Linked DNA regions of Homo sapiens: regions 1 and 2 are each linked to region 3. Evidence: promoter capture Hi-C in 16 types of primary human blood cells and fetal thymus (Javierre and others, 2016). All regions are on one chromosome and are shown on one strand. The core of a region is centred on a gene start or on the middle of the fragment in contact, and the rest is flanking DNA. Distances in the headings are between cores, read along the strand shown.

Region 1 (3,280 bases), core at 602-3,101, 1.2 Mb after region 3:
CACGTACCTGTAATCCCAGTTACTTGAGAAACTAAGACAGGAGAATACCTTGGACCTGGGAGGTGGAGGCTGCAGTGAGCCAAGATCACACCACTGCACTCCAGCCTGGGAGACAGGGTGAGCCTCCGTCAAAAAAAAAAAAAAAAGAAAGAAAGAAAAAATTAAACAACACCCTTCTAAATAACCCATTGATCAAAAAGTCTCAAGAGAATTCAGAAAATATTTTGACCTACTTAAATATGAAAAGAACATATCAAAAATTGGGGGATACAATTAAAGTCTATAAGCAGCTTACTATAAATATTATTATATAGATCAATTAAAAATAAAAGAATAGAAAATGACAAACCATCAACATACACTAACAAAAAGAATGCAAGAATGGCTATATTGTTATCAAAGCAAACTTCAGAACAAGGAACATTGTCAGGGAGGAAGAGAGGCAAACATACCAAGAACACATAACAATCCAGGTATGTATGTGCAAAACCACAGAGCTTCAAAATACATGAATCGAAAACTGATACAACTAAAAGGAAAAATGGACAAATCTACAATTATACTTGGAGACATCAAAGCACCTCCTGATAATTAACAGAAGTAGAAAATAGGCAAGAATTAAGAAGACCTGAACAACCAGAAAAGTGAACATTTTATAGCTGCTCAGTCCCTTGTCTTTTGAGAGAAAAAAAACATTCTAGAAAAGATAAAAATGAATTTATTTTATGAACAACCCTATTTGACCTAAGTTCCATGAACACTATTCTTCATCAACTAAATACTGGTTGGAACAGACTTATCTTTTATAAAAATTAACAGAAGTTATAATTCAATCTCTAGGTCATTTGTATGGCAGAAATATTACATATAGTTAATATTATTTACAAAGTCATGTTATTTTGACATTATGACAAATTGTGTCAGAAATGCCCAGAGTACCTTCTCTTAGCCTTTTCCTGGGGACTTAATTTTGTTTTTTCTTAGTTATGTCTAGATTTAATCATTGCTTCTGCCAATTCAGTTTCTAGGTTCTGATGTTCAGTTGTGTATAATAGACTATGAAATATAGTGATCTGATAGTTTACTAGCGTATTTAAAGGAAATATCTTTTAAAAGTAAATAGTTTGTGGCAGGCATCAGTCTATGAAAGGGAAGCCTAATTTTGAAAACTATAAGCTTTCATATTATATAATATGTGAAAACCTCATATATGTGAAAGCATTATCGCTATGTATTTTTAATAGCATTATACCAGAAATTTTTAGAAGATTATATACTTTTTAATTAAATTATAGCAGTGAAAATAGCAAACACAAGAACTAGATTTTGGACAGAAGAAGAAAGAAATACATAAAATCTCTTTCACCCTTTTTTCTGATTCTTTTTCAAAATAGCAAACTTTTGCCTGTTGTGACTGAAATGTACTACCAAATATGACTTCTCAGGGTCTTTCATATTTCAAATATTGTATCAATGTGTTTTATTTTTAATTCTCTAATTTATGATAACTTGTTTTTCTAGTTTGTGGTATGCAAAGATATGTGCAGAGCCTTTCAAATAAAGTGACTCTGAACAAAAACAAAAAAAAGAAGATCTGAACATTCTCCGTCAACTTGACCTAATTAATATTTATAAAGTATTCTGCCCTAGAACAAGAGAATATACATTCTTTTCAAGTGTATGTGGAACATTCACCAAGGTAGATCAGAGATTAGCAAACTATAACCTGTGGACAAAATTTCACCCACCATCTATTTTTGTAAATTAGTCTTATTGAGACATAACCATGCCAATTTGTTTGTGTGTTGTCTGTGGCTATTTTTGTGTCACAAAGGCAGAGATGAATAGTGCAGGAGAGACCATATGGCCCTAACACCAAAAGTATTTACTATCTGACCCTTTACAGAAAAGGTTACCTACCAATCTTCTGCACCATAAGCAAACTATAGCCAATTGAAAACAATAGAAAGCATTGTTTTCTTTGACCGTAAGAGAATTAAATTAGAAATTAATAACGAGGGTATCTGGAAAATTCCAAAAATTTTGGAAATTAAGTAAAACCTTTCTAAGTAACCCATTGATCAAAAAGGAAGTCTCAAGAGAATTCAGAAAATATTCTAAATTACCTAAATATTAAAATACAGGGCCAGACACAGTGGCTCCCACCTGTAATCCCAGCACTTTGGGAGGCCAAGGCAGGTGCTTCACTTGAGGCCAGGAGTTCAAGACCAGCCTGGCAAACATGATGAAACCCCATCTCTACTAAAGATACAAAAAAAATAGCTGGGAGTGGTGGCACACACCTGTAGTCCCAGCTACTGAGACACGAGACATGAGAATCACTTGAACCCGGGAGGTGGAGTTTGCAGTGACCCGAGATTGTGCCACTGCACTCCAGCCTGGGTAACAGAGTAAGACTCTTGTCTCAAAAAATAACTACATAAATAAATAATGTTTCAACTCTGGACAATATCCATTGACTTCCAGCCAAGAAACATGAGGAAAAAAAGAAAAGAATAAAGCTTTTAAATTTATATTCCAACTTTATACCTTAAGAAACTAGAAAAATAAGAGCAAATTAAACACAAAGCAAATGGAAGGAAGAAAATAAGAAAGAGCACAAATCAATAAAATTAAAAACACAAAATAGAGAACATTTATAAAATCAATTGTATTAAAACATCAAAATTATTAATAAACCCCTAGCCAGACTAAGACAGAAAAAAGATAACACAAATTATCAATATCAGGAATGAAAGAAGGGATATTACTACAGATACTACAGACATTAAAAGGGTACAAGAGAATACTACAAATAACTTTATGCCCATACATTCAATGACTTAAATAAAATGGAATAAATCTTTAAAGATACACTGCCAAAATTCACTTGAGAAGAAATAAGTAAACTGAGCCATCTATTAAAAGCTGAATTTATAGTTTAAAACCTTCCAACAAAGAAAAGTACCACAAGACTTCACTGATAATATCAACCAAACATTTGAGAAAGTAATAACATTAAATCAACATAATTTTTTCCAGAAAATAGACTAGGAGAAATATTTTCTAAATTTTTTTGTGAGGTCATCATTACCCTGACAACAAAACCAGACAAAATGTATGCAAGAGAATAAAATTACAAACCAATATCCTTCATGAGCATGATCACGAAAAATTCCCAATGAATTATTAACAAGTAATATCCAGGAACATATAAGAAGGAATATACACCATGAGCAAGATAAGTTTATCTACGAAATGAAAGAATGTTTCTTCATTT
Region 2 (3,132 bases), core at 206-2,705, 1.1 Mb before region 3:
TATGCCTTAAATATATGCAATTTTTATTTGTCAACTATACATTAATACAGCTGGGGGTGTGTTGTTTGAGTACCTTTATGAAGATACCCAGAAGACATGTCTCTGGTATGACTAGCAGCAATAACTGTGCAGAGTCTGTGAATCATGTAAACTGATCATGGTTCTCTGCTGCCTGCCAAGTAGCTTACAAGTCAAATTTATGTCCCAGTTCTAATTTCACAGCATGCACTTTTGTGTCCTGAGGCTTTTATCTTTCCTACTCTCATTTCTCTTTGCCCCAGTTTCCTCATTTGTAAACTGCCTTAAATCTTTCGGGGAACAAGAAGGAAGGGGTATGTATCAATCAATCAATCCATAATTTCTAGCCATTCTTTAAGGTCCACCTCCATGAAACTTGGCTTCAATCTTCTTGCCCAGTCATTTCTCCTCTCCAGTTCCTTGTATAGCATTTATTGTTTACTACTCAATGGCTCAATCATGGTTTTTTTTTGTTTTTTTTTTTTTGAGATGGGGTTTTGCTCTTGTTGCCCAGGCTGGAGTGCAGTGGCACAATCTGGGCTCACCACATCTGCCTCCTGGGTTCAAGCGATTCTGCTGCCTTAGCCTCCCGGCCAGATGGGATTACAGGCATGTGCCACCACACCCAGCTAATTTTGTATTTTTAGTAGAGATGGGGTTTCCCTATGTTGGTCAGGCTGGTCGCGAACTCTTGACCTCAGATGATCCGCCTGCCTCGGCGTCCCAAAGTGCTGGGATTATAGGCGTGAGCCACTGTGCCTGGCAATCATGTTGTTTTATGTAATTCTGTTAGTTCATAATGGTAACACATGCATAAGCTTTTGTTAATTTTTGGCTTTTATATACTTTCATTTAATTTGTGTTATTTTAATGTGTTATTTTGCTTGCACCGCAGTCTAGCACAGGGTCCATCTACTTGTTAGCACACTTATCAGATTAAAGTGAATATTATGAACACTCACACTCTTGAACACATACATAAGAAGAAATCTCTACTGACAAAACCTGAGCCCTAGCTACTGCTGTAATCCCTACTTTTCTCCCCTCAACCACTTTGCCCTTACCTGATTCATCCTCTACCTTGCAAATGATTTTTTTTAAATATAAACCTCATCTGATCTCTCCCCTTTACTTCTCTAGCTGTCAGAATCTTTACCATAGACATCAGGGCTCCATGTGATACTCTCCTTCCTCCTTCTCTAGTCTTATCTCAAGCCACATTCCCTCCTATTTGATCATCATTCCAGAGGTTTCACTTTCGTGATTCAAAAAACATGAGGCGGCAACAGAAATACATTCACATACTTTACAAATGAGTTAAACAAGAGTATGTAGCTGCACTATTTATATTCGCCCAAATCGTAAGATGACCATCAAATGTAGGATGGATAAATGAATTATGGTACTCATGCAATGAACATTACCTGCCAGTGGCCAGGCGCTGTGGCTCACACCTGTAATCCTAGCACTTTGGGAGGCAGAGATGGGCGGATTGCCAGAGCTCAGGAGTTTGAGACCAGCCTGGGCAACGTGGTGAAACCCCGTTTCTACTAATAATACAAAAAATTAGCTGAGTGTGGTAGTGCACACCTGTAATCTCAGCTACTCGGGAGGCTGAGGCAGGAGAATCACTTGAACCCAGGAGGCGGAGGTTGCAGTGAGCTGAGATTGTGACATTGCACAATCTAACACCCACAGCCTGGGTGACAGAGCGAGACTCTGTCTCAAAAAAAAAAAAAAAAGAAAAGAAAATTACCTGCAAGTGAGAAGGAGCAAAATACATGTGCAACAATGTAATGTGATCTGTGTAATAATGTGATTTCCCTTAGGATGTGGCTGATGAAGAAATTGCTGCCCTCCCCCGGGATAGCTGTCCTGTTAGAATCAGAAATCGGTGTGTTATGACGTCCCGTCCGCGTGGTGTGAAGCGGCGCTGGAGGCTTAGTCGTATAGTCTTCCGTCACTTAGCTGACCATGGGCAACTTTCTGGGATCCAGCGAGCGACATGGTAAATGAGCTCCAGAACCTATTGAGCTTGCAGGGAAGCCAAGCTTGCAGTTCCAGCAAGCAAAGATTTTTTTTAATAGACCAAACCCTAATCTCTACAGGGGCCCAGTACAGTTGTTTGGCCTACCTGATGCTATCTCTAAACTACTTTTAAAATGAAGACATTTGGGTGTTTCATGTCAGTGAATTATCTTTTCTCTTGGACTTAACAAACATACTGTTCCCATACATAGTACAAAGAGTAGCATAATAAATATTTTCTGTGAATGTTTTTTATACCCTCCTTTTAAGTTTAATCTTTTAGTAACATATAGGGGTTTTTGTATTAAGAGCATTATTTCATAAAATGCTATCTTATACATAATCCAACTAATTGACATGTAGCTCATGTATGGCAGTTTGTAATCCTGGACTAGCTTTGCTGACCTGCAGAGCTCCCCTTAACTATTATTGTTAGATAAACAGATTGGATAGCAAGGCTGCTGTTCTGGATTATCTAATGCTCCACTTCTTCTTGTGATGGCTGAACAAAAGAACCACTAAGTGTTTTCTTGTCCATCCTTAAGGGACTTTAAAACAAATTATGCCTCTTTAAGTCCTTGAAAGTCTCCATCTAAAGAGGAAAAGTTTGTTGGAACAGTATATATTCCCTATTTTTATGTTTATTTAATCCATAACAGAAATGAGTAAGGGTAGCACAAAGTTCTCATTCAGTAACTCAACAGTGTGATCATCAGCCCAGTGATAAAAATATACATACTGAATGGAAGTACCTACTTAACATCAGGAAAATATTCCTGGAGAACTTAATAAATCAGGAGGTGAGGGGTGAGATTTTTTTCTGCACACAGAGGGAACAAAAGCACAAAGAAGCAAAGGCACTCTGTAGCATCAGAGAACCACAGTCACTTCAGTAGATCAGAAATATGAAGCACAAGACAAGGCCCGTATTGTGGAGGATCTCACAAATCATGTGAAGGAATTAAGACTGACATACCAGGTATTACAGAGTTTTAAGCACAGGAATGACATCATCAGTTTGTAATACAGGTAAGTGACAGCTGTGTGGCAGATGGCCATGAGAGGAAAAAGCTACAGGCAAGACAA
Region 3 (3,118 bases), core at 399-2,898:
TTCCTAAGGGAGGCCTTTCCTACCAAGTGTTCTCAGATGGTGCCCTCCCCACTTCCTCCCACTGCTTCCTATATCCTTGCCCTGCTATAGTTTTCTCTATGGACCTTATTAACATCTGACTGGCACGTTACATATTTATTTTTTAAATACTGATTTTTTTTTTTTGAGATGGAGTCTTGCTCTGTCACCCAGGCTGGAGTGCAATAGCACGATCTCGGCTCACTGCAACCTCTGCCTCCTGGGGTCAAGTGATTCTCCTGCCTCAGCCTCCTGAGTAGCTGGAATTACAGGTGCCCACCACCATGCCCAGCTATTTTTTGTATTTTTAGTAGAGATGGGGTTTCACCAGGTTGGCTAGGCCGGTCTCGAACTCCTGACCTCAGGTGATCCACCTGCCTCAGCCTACCAAAGTGCTGGGATTACAGGTGTGAGCCACCACGCTTGGCCTAAAATACTGATTCTTTATGTGATTGCTGTATGTCTCCCCCGAATGGAATCCCAGCCCCAAGAACAGTGTCTGCTGGCACAAGCAGCACTCGTGTATTTGTTGAACTCAAGTGGTTGAACAGGAGACTTTTCAATAGTCTTTAATCTAGGGTGACAGATGAGCCTCTGGGCATTCTGGGGCCCTTTGGGACAGTTCTCGGCTACTGTTCACACTGCACATGGAGGGCTTCAAAGGATCCAGGGTCTGAATCAGCCAAGAACTTAGACACAGCTTCAGTTCAGGAGAGATGTCCTCTCTCATGAACGAAGAGCTCTCGAAAATGCCTATGACTGCAACAACAACTACAAGGAGTCCTTGATCACACAGCAGGAGGCACATGCGCCCTGTGAACTTGGTGGCTGCAGTCCTTGTGATGGTGCTTTTGGCTATTTCAGAAGAGGGAAATGTAAACAAACCTGCCCTTTATCTCCACTAGTTTGAATTTACCCAATCTCCCCAATAACTAATAAAAATAACGATACACATAAATATAATTTAGTTTGTTTTTATTTCAGCAGTTGTACGTGGGTTTTTCACCTGCCCCGCATTCTGTCTCCTGATCCCCCAGTAGAGTTTTGCTAAGTATTTCCCAGCTGCTCACACCCCTTAGAAACGCGCTTGGCATGCACCCCGAGGCCCTGCTCTTCTCTCCCTGTCCCACCACTTCAGGGCTGCTGGGGAATGGGTCTCTCTGTGGGCCACAGGTGTAACCATTGTGTTTTCCTTGTCTGTGCCAGGGACACCTTGGCACTCAGATGCCTGAAGGTAGCAGCTTGTCCCTCTTTGCCTTCTCTAATTAGATATTTCTCTCTCTCTCTCCCTCTCTCCATAAAGAAAACTATGAGAGAGGGTGGGTATGAACCAAGTTTGTTTCCTTGGTTAGTTTCCTAACCAAGTTTGAGGGTATGAACATACTCTCCTTTTCCTTTTCTATAAAGCTGAGGAGAAGAGTGAGGGAGTGTGGGCAAGAGAGGTGGCTCAGGCTTTCCCTGGGCCTGATTGAACTTTAAAACTTCTCTACTAATTAAACAACACTGGGCTCTACACTTTGCTTAACCCTGGGAACTGGTCATCAGCCTTTGACCTCAGTTCCCCCTCCTGACCAGCTCTCTGCCCCACCCTGTCCTCTGGAACCTCTGCGAGATTTAGAGGAAAGAACCAGTTTTCAGGCGGATTGCCTCAGATCACACTATCTCCACTTGCCCAGCCCTGTGGAAGATTAGCGGCCATGTATTCCAATGTGATAGGAACTGTAACCTCTGGAAAAAGGTAAGAGGGGTGAGCTTTCCCCTTGCCTGCCCCTACTGGGTTTTGTGACCTCCAAAGGACTCACAGGAATGACCTCCAACACCTTTGAGAAGACCAGGCCCTCTCCCTGGTAGTTACAGTCAAAGACCTGTTTGGAAGACGTCATTTCAAGTGCTCTCCCTCCCACCCCACCTCTTGGGGTAAGGCCTTTCCTAAGCTACCCCTTGGGTCCCTAGCCTAAGAAACAAGGGGGATGTCATCCCTGGTGTAAAGATGCTGTGCAGGAAGTCAGCACTCACGGGATCCAGGGGACGCTCCAAGGGGAATCCCCAGGGCCTGCCATCCATCCGGGAAGAGAGCAAATGCTACCCATGAGGACCTCCTCACTCCCTTTTTGCTCTTTCTTCCACTCAGATCCACCCCACTCCACCCCCACCCAAATCCCAGTGACCTTTGACTAAAGGGCCAAAACTGCTTCCTTTTCTCACAATGAGAGTTGTCCCTCCCTCAATGCCACACACACTCCCTTCTTCATCTGAGTTGTCACAGGAGGCTAGAAACGGGGTGGTGGCACAACTGTCTTGGTTTTAATTTGTGCTTCATAGCCCTCCCAGGGTCCTCTCAGCCTCAAATTGCATTTCCAAATGTAGTTGAAGGACAGAGTGGGCAACCGAAGGCAGTGGAGATGGGAAGATGAATGGCAGGGTCCTCTCCTCTCTCTCTCTGCTTCTTCAGCCTGCCTTCCACATCTCCCTTGGTGCCGCTGCTTCTCTCCGGCTTTGCACCTCTGTTCTTGAAAGGGCTGCAGAACTGGACTCAGACCACGCAAGAAGGCAAGTCCCCCTCAGCTGCCCCAGCTTCCAGCCAGCCCCAGGCTTGCCCAACGGACCACGTCCGTGAATCTGCACTGGGTGCCTGTCTTTCTCTCCCAGGAGAAGATGGGAAGATCCAGTACCCACACACAGACCCCCTTGTGTACACGCAGGAACCATAAACCAGCTGGAGGCAGCCCCTGCCCCACCCTGTCTTATCTACAAAAAATATTACAAGAGACTTTATCTCTTGATTTGCTTCATCGAGTGTCCCAACTACCTCATTTTTTTAAAATGTGAAATTAGCTTCATTTACCTTCATTGAATCCATGTTGGCGACTATTAAAAATTCCAGGCAATAAAAAGGGATGAGAGCCTGAACTAAAGCAGTGGCAATAACTGGTGAAAGAGTAAAAAAACAGAACTGATTGACTCTGGGGTGAACTGATTGACTCTGGGGTTTGACTAAATGAGGAGGAGAGAGGGAGGAATCCAGGGTGATTCTCAGGTTTCTGTACGGGATTCACTGAGCCCACTCACAGGAGCAGGCCTGTGGGGGAGAATTAATTAC

What was found. Contacts are between HindIII fragments. The CHiCAGO score rates a contact against its expected background, and 5 or more counts as called.
Region 1: a fragment that was not itself captured here is called in contact with the fragment with the promoter of SERPINC1 in region 3 in 1 of 17 cell types (total B cells); the score reaches 5.0 in total B cells.
Region 2: a contact is called between a fragment that was not itself captured here and the fragment with the promoter of SERPINC1 in region 3, in 1 of 17 cell types (neutrophils). The highest score is 6.6, in neutrophils.

The regions. Positions count from the first base shown.
Region 1 is chr1:172,734,302-172,737,581 of GRCh38, reverse strand. No RefSeq gene overlaps it. Among named protein-coding and RNA genes, the nearest start is that of FASLG, 77 kb to the right of the region's middle. The HindIII fragment of the contact is 1,346 bases long and covers 1,179-2,524 here.
Region 2 is chr1:175,013,567-175,016,698 of GRCh38, reverse strand. It overlaps MRPS14 (mitochondrial ribosomal protein S14), which reads left to right. Exons shown (of 3, transcript NM_022100.3): 3 at 1,848-3,132. The coding sequence ends at 2,030. Among named protein-coding and RNA genes, the nearest start is that of MRPS14, 8.3 kb to the left of the region's middle. The HindIII fragment of the contact is 1,233 bases long and covers 839-2,071 here.
Region 3 is chr1:173,915,857-173,918,974 of GRCh38, reverse strand. It overlaps SERPINC1 (serpin family C member 1), which reads left to right and starts at 1,648. Exons shown (of 7, transcript NM_000488.4): 1 at 1,648-1,756. The coding sequence starts at 1,716. LOC124904457 (a long non-coding RNA gene) reads right to left here and starts at 2,475. Exons shown (of 2, transcript XR_007066739.1): 1 at 2,035-2,475. The HindIII fragment of the contact is 6,307 bases long and covers 1-3,118 here.